Linked DNA regions of Homo sapiens: regions 1 and 3 are each linked to region 2. Evidence: promoter capture Hi-C in 16 types of primary human blood cells and fetal thymus (Javierre and others, 2016). All regions are on one chromosome and are shown on one strand. Each heading gives the region's core, a stretch centred on a gene start or on the middle of the fragment in contact. The rest is flanking DNA. Distances are from core to core; before and after follow the strand shown.

Region 1 (3,458 bases), core at 950-3,449, 490 kb after region 2:
TTGAACCATTGATACTAAACGGTATAAAACTGTCACTGGATTCGATGGCAATCCCTGAGACAGGGCATCAGCAACAATAACTTTTTGTTTAAATTAAAATTTAAAAATTTTCAATTTTTTAAAATAATGTTTTTAAAATTTCAAAGTATCATTAAAGACTTTTTCATTATCTTTCTTCCATTGTAGTTTTCCTTCTAAAAGAAGTTACTGTGACAACCCAAATACATTTAGTAGACAATATTATTTAAGCATCTCCTTTTTTTTTTTTTGAGACGGAGTCTTGCTCTGTCGCCCAGGCTGGAGTGCAGTGGCATGATCTCGGCTCACTGCAAGCTCTGCCTCCTGGGTTCACGCCATTCTCCTGCCTCAGCCTCCCGAGTAGCTGGGACTGCAGGGGCCCACCACCACTCCCGGCTAATTTTTTTTGTATTTTTAGTAGAGACGGTGTTTCACCGTGTTAGCCAGGCTGGTCTCAATCTCCTGACCTCGTGATCTGCCTGCCTCGGCCTCCCAAAGTGCTGGGATTACAGGCGTGAGCCACCGCACCCGGTCGTCTACTTTTTTTTTTTTTTTAAAGCAATCTGTAATCTGTATTTTCATAAGAATTATGTAATTTAAATCTTAGTAAAGTTCTAAGAAGTAGACGTGGAAGATGTTTTTAGCCCTATTTTATTGATGATCATACTTGAGCTTTAGTTAATTTCCCCTAGTTAAACTGCTACTTATGGCTGAAGCCAGGACTTTAGCCTAAATGCTCTGGCTTTAAATGTTCCTTCTACACAATTTGGTAGGTTGCTATAATACAGTGGTTAAGGATGTGGCTGTGGGGATGAACTACCTGGTTGTGGATCTTGATGCTACCTCCCACTAGCCATATGGTCTAAGAGGTTGTTGTGCTGAATATTTCTGAGCCTCAGCCTTCTCTTGAGTAAAATATCATCAGCTATTACACCTATTGTAAAGCTGGCTCACTGTGCACACTATTCCAACACTGCAGCATTCTGCATCTGGGGCTGCAGTTTCTACCACTTGCACAAGACAGGTGAGAGCGAGCCCCCACACAACAAGTTAAGCAAAGTGGCTTTATGACTCATGGATAGGCAGCAAGGGACAGGAGAAAGCTAGGGGTCACGGTGTACCAGTCCCCCAAGGCTCAGGAAACTGTCAGGGCAGATGCAGTCTCACATTGCTTACTGCAGCCGATGGACTGCAAAAGCTCTCCACCCTGGGTTTTATACTCCAGGGAAAACTTGGCTTCCTGGGCTAAAGCGTTGTAGGAAGGATAGAAACAGAACCCAGGCTGTTTTGGCCAGTGCCTCCTCATCTCAGGATGTTGCATCCCCAGCACATTCTAAGGTTATTCTGAGAACTACCAGTGACAAAGAGGGAAGAGCTGGGTCACCAAGGCCATCCAGGGACCTGCTCTGCATCTTTCTCTTGAGAAAATTGTGAGGATCAAGTAACTGACTATGTTACTTGATCATATTTGAGGTGAACCCAGTGGGGTAAAACCGTAAACCCAACCCTCTTCTTCCTCCCACTGTACCTTCCAATCCAAGTTTGGGTCAGTTCTTGTTCTGTCCCGGCAGGCAGGTCTTATAGTTTCTGGTCCATTTTAGTTGCAAGAACCTCGTAGTTCAGTAGTTTAAACACCCAGTGCAGTGTAATGATGCAGTTAGAGCTCTTGTTCCATTTAGAGCTTCTCCTTCTGTTAGTATCACTTAGACCTGGAAGCCTGAGGTAGAGTTGGGGAGCGGTGTCTGCTGCTTCCTTAGCCCCTCCCTGCCCCACTCCTACTCTCATTCTTGGTGCCTTCGGGGCAGGTAGGGGACAGGGGACGAGGAGAGTAAGTGGCTGGAATTGTCTTAATCTAGCAGTGACACTCTCTGGCTCTGCAGATGTCCATGCAGATGCTGTCCCATGGGGCTCTTTGGAGGGTTGTGAGATGCCCAATAAGCTGGGTCCACCCCTACAGCAGCTCCTGCACATGCCAGGGAGCCTCTTCGATGCTCCCCTCCTTCCTTGGGCCTCTGAAGATCCATCCTTTTCTGCCTCCCTTTTTTCACAGGCAGTCTTCCCAGACAAAGTCCAGTGCAAAGAGACCCACTGGCTCATGGCCACTCAAGCTTCATGTCACCCCATGTGGCTGGCCAGGAGCAGGTCTCTCCAATGCAGTTCCGCATCTTTTTGTACTTTGCGGCCTTGGACCTCAGCGCAGGATATCACCCTTACATCTCCCAGGCTTGCTTCACATACCCATTGCCTGTGCCACCCAAGCTTCAGAGGATACAGATAAATGTGTCCCCTTGAAACCCCTCTCAGGTGTTTAAGGTGGGCAAGATACAGCCCCTGAGCAATGGTCTCAGCATGCCAGCAGTGCTCTCCAAGGTCTGTCCTCCCAACTCTTTCTGCAGCCTCCATCTGGTTTATTACACACTCTGGAAGACAGCAGATCAGCGAACCATTACAAAACTTGCTCTCAGACACCACCTTCCAAGTCCTGAATAGATGGTCTGGACTTTGAAATGGGGGATACTTGGTACTTCCCCACCGCCAAACGTCCTTTTTCATATACCGTGTGTCATGTCTAAAGCACATATAAACTGTGTCTGGCACATAAGTGCTCAGTTAATATTTGCCATGATTATTTCCCAAGGCCTGTTGGTATCTCTTTGGACACTCTGTCTAAATTTTATTCTGCCTCAGTTTGTCAGGGTTCTGGACAAATTGTCCACAGGGAGGACTCAGGCCTCGGCTCAGATTGGGCAAGAACAAACCACACCCCTGCCATCAGCCAAGCTCCTTGCCTACCCTGAGTCCATAGCTGCCCTTTCCAGAGGAGACCTGAGGGTGCACCCACGTAAAGGGGGCAATTTCAATGCACAAAAGAAATACTACTATAGCTGTGAAAAGGTACTGCTAGGAAGGGCATAAAAGGGCCCCTGGCTGAATGCCAAGTATAAAACAGAAACAGAGTCCTCAAGGACAAGTTGTCAGGAGCCACAAGAAGGGGGTCCTTCCAGAAGCTGTGGGAATCCAGGGCAGCGGGAAAAAGCCTTACAGGGTCAGGGGTAAGAGCTAGTGGGGAACCTTCATCAGCCTGGAGCAGGTCCATAAAGCTGGAATAAAAAGTGAGAAAAGAAATACCTTACAGGTGAGGCTTGCACCTGAGGTTGCATGTCTGCAGGCTGATCATATAAAAGATTTATTTCTTCATGTTGTACCTTTGAAGATGATCAGATTATGTTTGCTAACCATCGTGAGCTTCTTGGATGAAAAACGCAAGATGAACCTTGGATAAGTATCCACACACACAGCAATCAGCCAGCAGGTAGGATTCGGTCTCTGTGCTGAGTCATTTCCGTATTACATTGAAATAAGTAATACAGTTCTCTTGGCAGTATTTTTGTTTTTAAAGTAAGTTGGGATGAAAGCTGGCGCCTAGGCTATTTATCCTC
Region 2 (3,152 bases), core at 451-2,950:
ACTCTTATTTCAGGAGTGGAGTGGGACTCTCCCCTGGGCGTTTAGGGTGTCGCCTCTGGCATGTGCTCCCACTGCAGAAAACAAGTCCAAATGCAACGCATCGGGTTTCTGAACAGCCGCCAGAGCGCGGAAACCAGACCGTCAGCAAAGCTGTCGCGGGAACAGGGGCTCTGAGAGGGCGGCGCGGGGGGCGGGGTGCCGGAGTGGGGGTCGAGGCGGGAGGGGGAGTGGGGGTCGAGGCGTGGGGGAGGGTGGCGGGGCACAGGCCAGGTGGCCGATGTTGCGCGTTCCGGGGCCCCTCGGCAGGCGGCGGGTCGGGAGGAGTGGAGGCCCGGGTGGGGCGGGCGCGCGGGGCGGGAGCAGCCCCGGTCGCCGCCTGGGCGCGGGCGCCCTCCCTGTGGAGCATGCGGGACGTGAGCGACGTGTGGCAGCCTCTGCGCAGACTTTTCCGCCGCGGTGTAGGTTTCAGCGAGCGCCGCCTTCCCTCCAATCACAGCCCAGCCTCAGCGCTAAGTGTGCACCTCTCTGCAAGGCGGCGCAGCGCTCCCGTACTGAGGCTTCGTTTGCAAAAGTTACATCCGTCCCGGCGCGGGCGGCGGTTCCCCACCAAAAGCAACCCAGATCTTCCCCGCACGCCTCTGACCTGACTGCACGACTGTCACAAGTCGCGAGCTGGTGCAAACTGCGAGGGCCGGGAAAGGAGACGGGGCACGCATGCACCAAAAAGTGGGGAGGCAGAGCTGCAGGGTGTGCAGGATAACGGAGTGAATTTTAGGAGTCTGCCTAATAAGGGGCCGCCCCCAATAGTTTTCCCTCGACTTAGGTAATGAATTGCAGATCGAAATGGGTCTAGTTTTATTCATTCTTCTACTCGGGGCGATAAAGGTTTATTGAATGGTGTACATGGTGAGTGTGAAAACCAGATGCCAGCTGCCCCCAGCCCCAGTCCACTTCAGTCCAGCTCCCCGGGGCTTTCCCGCCCCCTCCTCGTACCCAGCACCGCGGGCCTCTCAAGGTTCCCAGTCTTTGGGCTAGGGGAGGGGAGCAAGGCTCAGTTCAAGTCCAGGTTTCTAAGGGATTCAGCAAAGTGGACAAGGACGAGGTGAGGTGGGAGGATCAGGGAAGCCTCCTCCCCGCGGGTCGCCCGGGTCGTGGCGGGGGATGGGCTCACGGGTATTATCAGGGAGCAGCCTGGCCCATGTCCTTACCTGGACTGCGCCTGCCCCACAGCGCGTGTTAGGAATGCAGAGTATTGGGGCTCCATGGCCCTAAAGGAGCTGCATTGGTAGGATGCACTTTAAGCAGCTTCCCAAGGGATTCGGCTGCGGGGTCCACGGTCTACACTGGGCAGGACTGCGTCTCTGCTCTCCTCCCGGCCAGCACAGTTGAGGTGAGGGGCCGGAATTAGTCGGGGAAGCTGTGCCAGACGTCCCGAGGGGACAACGGGACGAGGGGATAACAGCAGCCAGGACCCTTCAGCAGGGCTGGGCGCGCTCCAGGCCCGGGGCAGGGCGGCGGGAGCTGGTGCACCGCCGTCGCCGGCCCGCAGGGGGAGCTCGCAGGCTGCTTCCCGGCTCGCCCACCCTCCTCCCCACGTGGAAGGGGGCTGGGACCCAAGGAATGCGGCCCGCCCCGAGGCTGACGTACGCGTCTGCGGCCAGCCCGGACTCTTTAAAAGCCGGCGGTGCGCGGGGCATCCCAGCCAAGCCGGAGAGGAGGCGAGCAGCAGGGCCTGGTGGCGAGAGCGCGGCTGTCACTGCGCCCGAGCATCCCAGAGCTTTCCGAGCGGACGAGCCGGCCGTGCCGGGCATCCCCAGCCTCGCTACCCTCGCAGCACACGTCGAGCCCCGCACAGGCGAGGGTCCGGAACTTAGCCCAAAGCACGTTTCCCCTGGCAGCGCAGGAAACGCCCGGCCGCGCGCCGGCGCACGCCCCCCTCTCCTCCTTTGTTCCGGGGGTCGGCGGCCGCTCTCCTGCCAGCGTCGGGATCTCGGCCCCGGGAGGCGGGCCGTCGGGCGCAGCCGCGAAGATGCCGTTGGAACTGACGCAGAGCCGAGTGCAGAAGATCTGGGTGCCCGTGGACCACAGGCCCTCGTTGCCCAGATGTGAGTGCAGCTGCGCGGAGCCGGGTTGCAGGGCGGGCTGCGCCGGGCCGGGCCATTGTGTGGGGCGGCTTTGTGCCGACGCCCCTCTGCGGGGGGCGCGCCCGTGCGGGTCGCGCCGGCGGGGCGGGGCGGAGGCGCGGGCTGCGCGTCCTTGGCCGGGCGGCGGGGGCGCTGTGGCCCTTGTCCCGGTGGCTGCCCCGCCGGCCCGGAAACGGCGAGTGCGCCCGGCCGGGCTGCGTACCCCGAGACGGAGGGACGCGCGCGCCTGGGCAGGCCAGGGAGGGGATCCACATCCTCCGCGATCCCTGTCCTCGACACCCGTCTCGGGCGGCCGTCGCCGGAGCGCAGCCCAGGGACCCGGCCGCTCGCGCCTCCGCCCCTTTTCACCGTCCGGATCTCCTCTCTCTGCATGTTTCCATCTCCTCTCCCGCCTTGCTATGCATTCCTATCCCCTCGCTTCACTTAATAACCTATTTCTCTGTCCTGTTTTCTCTTTCGATATATATGTCTCTGTTTTTCTCTGTTTCTACCTCCTTCCTCTCCCACTGTTTCTTTCTGCTTTTATCTCTTTCTCTCTCCTTCTCTCTCTTCCGTGCATCTCCAGTGCCATGGGGGCGCCCGTGCTGGGGGCGCCAGGAGAGCCACCTGGAGCCACGCCTGTGTCCCCGGCTTTGGGGAGGGTCGGTGGGTTGGTGAGTGCACGGTTGGCGCTGCTCCACGCGCCCCGGGCGCACGCACCCCCCGGTGCTCGGAATTGGCTGGCAGTACCCTGCCCCGCCCCGCCGGTCGCCGCCCCCGCCACCAGCGATCGCTTGGGAGAGGGTTACCTCGAGCTCCACCTCAGCTGCGGAGCGCCGCCGCGGAAAAGGGCGGGTGGGCAGCGCAGAGGGGCGACGCTGCCTCTCCAGGTAATGCGCCCCGGCTCCCATGGGCTGGACAGGGAGCCGCCTGGTGCGGTTTTGCCCAGGTCAGGTCGTAGCCTGAGTAGTGACCGTGGGATCCAGGTGCAAACTCTCGAGGTGGCTTCGGGTCATCCGAAGGCGCCTG
Region 3 (2,982 bases), core at 241-2,740, 420 kb after region 2:
TTAAAAGGGGTCATTATTCACTAACTATATTTTAACATATGCTTAGAGCAACCCATTACTGCTGGGGATAATAAACGGTGCCCAGATGAACAACCACATTGCATACAAAGGATGGTGTCTGAGATCACTACTGGGCCCGACTTAGCCACCATCTTTCCAAATAGAATCATAGGTTTGGAAATTTATCCCTTCTATGGATGAAGCACCAAACTATTAAACTGCAAAACCATTCTGTATTTATTCTTTCCAGCTGCAGTTCCCTTGACAATAAATGAAGAGTTTGTCCTCTGATTATGTTTGATTTGTTCTCTTATTTACCCCAAAAGATTATATTAAAATTTATATTTCAGTTTGGATGGTTTCAGTTGTAAGTAACCAAAAAGCAAACTCAGACTGTCTTAAACAAAAAGGGAGATCTAGCGGCTAGAGGCAGAGCAGGCCTAGCTCTTGAATCAGAGTCCTGGTTTTAGTCTTTGATGTGTCTCTCCACCCTGCCCTTCTCTGACACTCAAATTTCATGGGTGCTACACGTAGAGGGAGGGTAGCATGGAAGGTGTGGAGATAACTACTATGTCTACTTACGTGTCCACGAGTAACCTCATCACCACGTTGGGAGAAGCTACATACGATACTTTTTGGGAGAAACTGAGCTCCGGAGCTGCTTGGTCAATCTCCCTGTAACCGAATCACAGGTTCACTTGATCACCACCTGCAGAGTCCAATCAACAAGAGCAAGGTCTGGTATAAAGAAAGTGACATTTTATTCTAAAGCTAGCTTACGGGAAGAAGTCCAGGCTTCCTGCCTTAAGGGTACTGCTTCAATTTTGGAGGAGAAAGTGGGCACTTTTAAAAGGGGGCCTGGCATGAGCGGCATGCGGGGGAGGGAGTGAGCAGCTGGGGGTCCATGGGACTTGCCTCGGTGCTTTATCTACTGCTCAAGCCGGCACCATCACAGGCAGAACCAGGTTGCAAAGCAGACTTGTCTCAAGATATGCTCCAGGTGGGAGAGAGTTTCATGCCGGGAATACTTTGGGTTGTAAATTGACTGTTGTTTCTTGAGGCATCTCCTTGGGGAGAGGTTTCTGCTCTGGAGCCTCTAAGTAAGTATACAGTTAGATAAGCTTGCCTTGTAAAGAACATCTGGAGAAGGCAGAATGTTATAATTGCATTTCTAAAGAGCTAAGTAGGAAGTGGGGAGATGGGAAAAGGAGAAAAGAGAAAAGAAGAAAATAATAATGAAAAAATAACGCGTTCTCTTTGTCTTAATAAATGGGGATACTTGGTTACATGCCCGCTGACAAAGACTCTCTTCTTGATTAAGCTAAGGCTCCTCTGAGCCATCTTCTCAACTAGGCCTTAACCTTGGCCCATGAGGATGGCTGACTCTCAGCACAGACAATTTTTTCTACCCATTCCCACACTAAGAGACACAAACAAACACTATCATTGTAACCGAACTCAGATCTGGGCTACTCATTGCTTGAAAGCCAAAAACTCAAGAGAGCTTTGGTGAAAAGAAAGTTCGCTTCATTCAAGAAGCCGGCAAACCAGAGGAGGGAGTGAACTAGCACTCAGAGACCACCTCTCGGAGCTTTGCTTCTGGATCTTGATCCAGGGGGGGTTTAAGGGAAATTAGGGGAAATGATGACCAAAACATTTCTGTGAAATGTGCACAATAGGCAGCCAGTTAATCATTGCTTTCTTCATCAGTGTTTCGTGAGCTTCTACAGGTTCGTCAGCCCATTCTTAGAGCTGTTGGTTGGCAAATTTTCTTTTATCTCTGTTGAAGATCTTGTTTTCCTGTAGCTGTTATTAGTAAATAATGCACAAACTCAAGCGAAGCAATAATTGCATTCAAGCAAGCTTTTCTCTAACAAGGAGTCAGCACTGTCACAGCACGGTTCCTAATAGCTCAAGGATGCACTCCTGGGATGAGGACTCCAGGCTCCTTAAGTTCCTGCCTGGGAAAACTCAAGGCTGCCAGAATGATTTACTTTTTGTTCCAGCCAACCCCTGAAGATAGGGCACCTGCCTTCTAGTCTCCATGGGAGGACAGAAGCCTAACTGGATAATCGCCAGTTAACAAACACAGATGGACTAATCACGTAAACCAACCACCTCCTTCCCGCTTTTTTAAGTTTCTGCTTCCCTGACTCCACTGAGCCTATGTTCCATCCCTACTCCTACTTTCTGATTCTTTCCTTGAAACACCCAGTCACCTGTGCACAGAACAAAAGATGAACTCAGTTTATGCTGGACACTTCCCTTTGCAATAGACTGAATAAAATCTGTTCTCATCAACTTTAACTAGCGTCCAGCATTGGCACCATGTTCTTTAAGAATGACTTCCAAGTCCCTACTCCTTCCCAGCCCTCTTCATTGTGGTTTGTGTTTGTAGAACACAGAGTTAAAGTAAGACCTGTTATTGTTATGGACCACAGGTTCTTAAGCTCCCACGCAATAGAAATTGACACAAAGCCAAGCAAGTTTCCCAGACAAGGCTTTATTGAGGGCTTATGCTTGAGCACAAGGGAGACAGCACAGGATGAAGGATTCCCTGGCTGGCTCCCTGGGAAGAGCTGCTTGGGATCTTTTATTTGGGGGAAGAAAAGGGGTCAACGTTAAATAAAAGGTATGTAAACATGATTTGGAAGGAATTTCAGCCATGCAAGGGCAGTGTAGAGACATACTTTTTCATATATCACATGGCAGATAAGCCTCTCATCGGGCAGGGATTTTAGTATTATAATGAGGCAAGGGTCCGGATTGGTCATTCTCATGGTCTTGTGCACATGCAGGTGACAGGGTTAACTCCCTTGAGTAAGATTTATAGTGGAATGCTCCTGATGTTAGCTTCTTCACGCAGTTTGCAAGATCTGATCAGTGGGGGTGGCGCCAGCTGGCGGGTGCTGCAAGCTCTGGCGGTCAGCAGACATGTATAGAAAAATACATTAGTCAGGGTGGGCTGAGTAACAGGTGGGC

The links. Contacts are between HindIII fragments. The CHiCAGO score rates a contact against its expected background, and 5 or more counts as called.
Region 1: a fragment that was not itself captured here is called in contact with the fragment with the promoter of PFKFB3 in region 2 in 1 of 17 cell types (total CD8 T cells); the score reaches 6.5 in total CD8 T cells.
Region 3: a fragment that was not itself captured here is called in contact with the fragment with the promoter of PFKFB3 in region 2 in 1 of 17 cell types (non-activated CD4 T cells); the score reaches 5.0 in non-activated CD4 T cells.

What each region holds. Positions count from the first base shown.
Region 1 is chr10:6,685,906-6,689,363 of GRCh38, forward strand. No RefSeq gene overlaps it. Among named protein-coding and RNA genes, the nearest start is that of LINP1, 50 kb to the right of the region's middle. The HindIII fragment of the contact is 151 bases long and covers 2,125-2,275 here.
Region 2 is chr10:6,201,232-6,204,383 of GRCh38, forward strand. It overlaps PFKFB3 (6-phosphofructo-2-kinase/fructose-2,6-biphosphatase 3), which reads left to right and starts at 1,701. Exons shown (of 15, transcript NM_004566.4): 1 at 1,701-2,105. The coding sequence starts at 2,030. It overlaps PFKFB3-AS1 (PFKFB3 antisense RNA 1), which reads right to left and starts at 1,526. Exons shown (of 2, transcript XR_007062045.1): 1 at 1,209-1,526. RefSeq lists enhancers at 1-371, 926-1,430, silencers at 174-393, 1,424-1,753, 1,804-1,913, 2,034-2,543, 2,774-2,853 and a cis regulatory region at 1,364-1,895. The HindIII fragment of the contact is 24,291 bases long and covers 1-3,152 here.
Region 3 is chr10:6,622,098-6,625,079 of GRCh38, forward strand. All of the region lies in intron 3 of LINC02648 (long intergenic non-protein coding RNA 2648), which reads left to right. Among named protein-coding and RNA genes, the nearest start is that of LINC02648, 4.9 kb to the left of the region's middle. The HindIII fragment of the contact is 742 bases long and covers 1,120-1,861 here.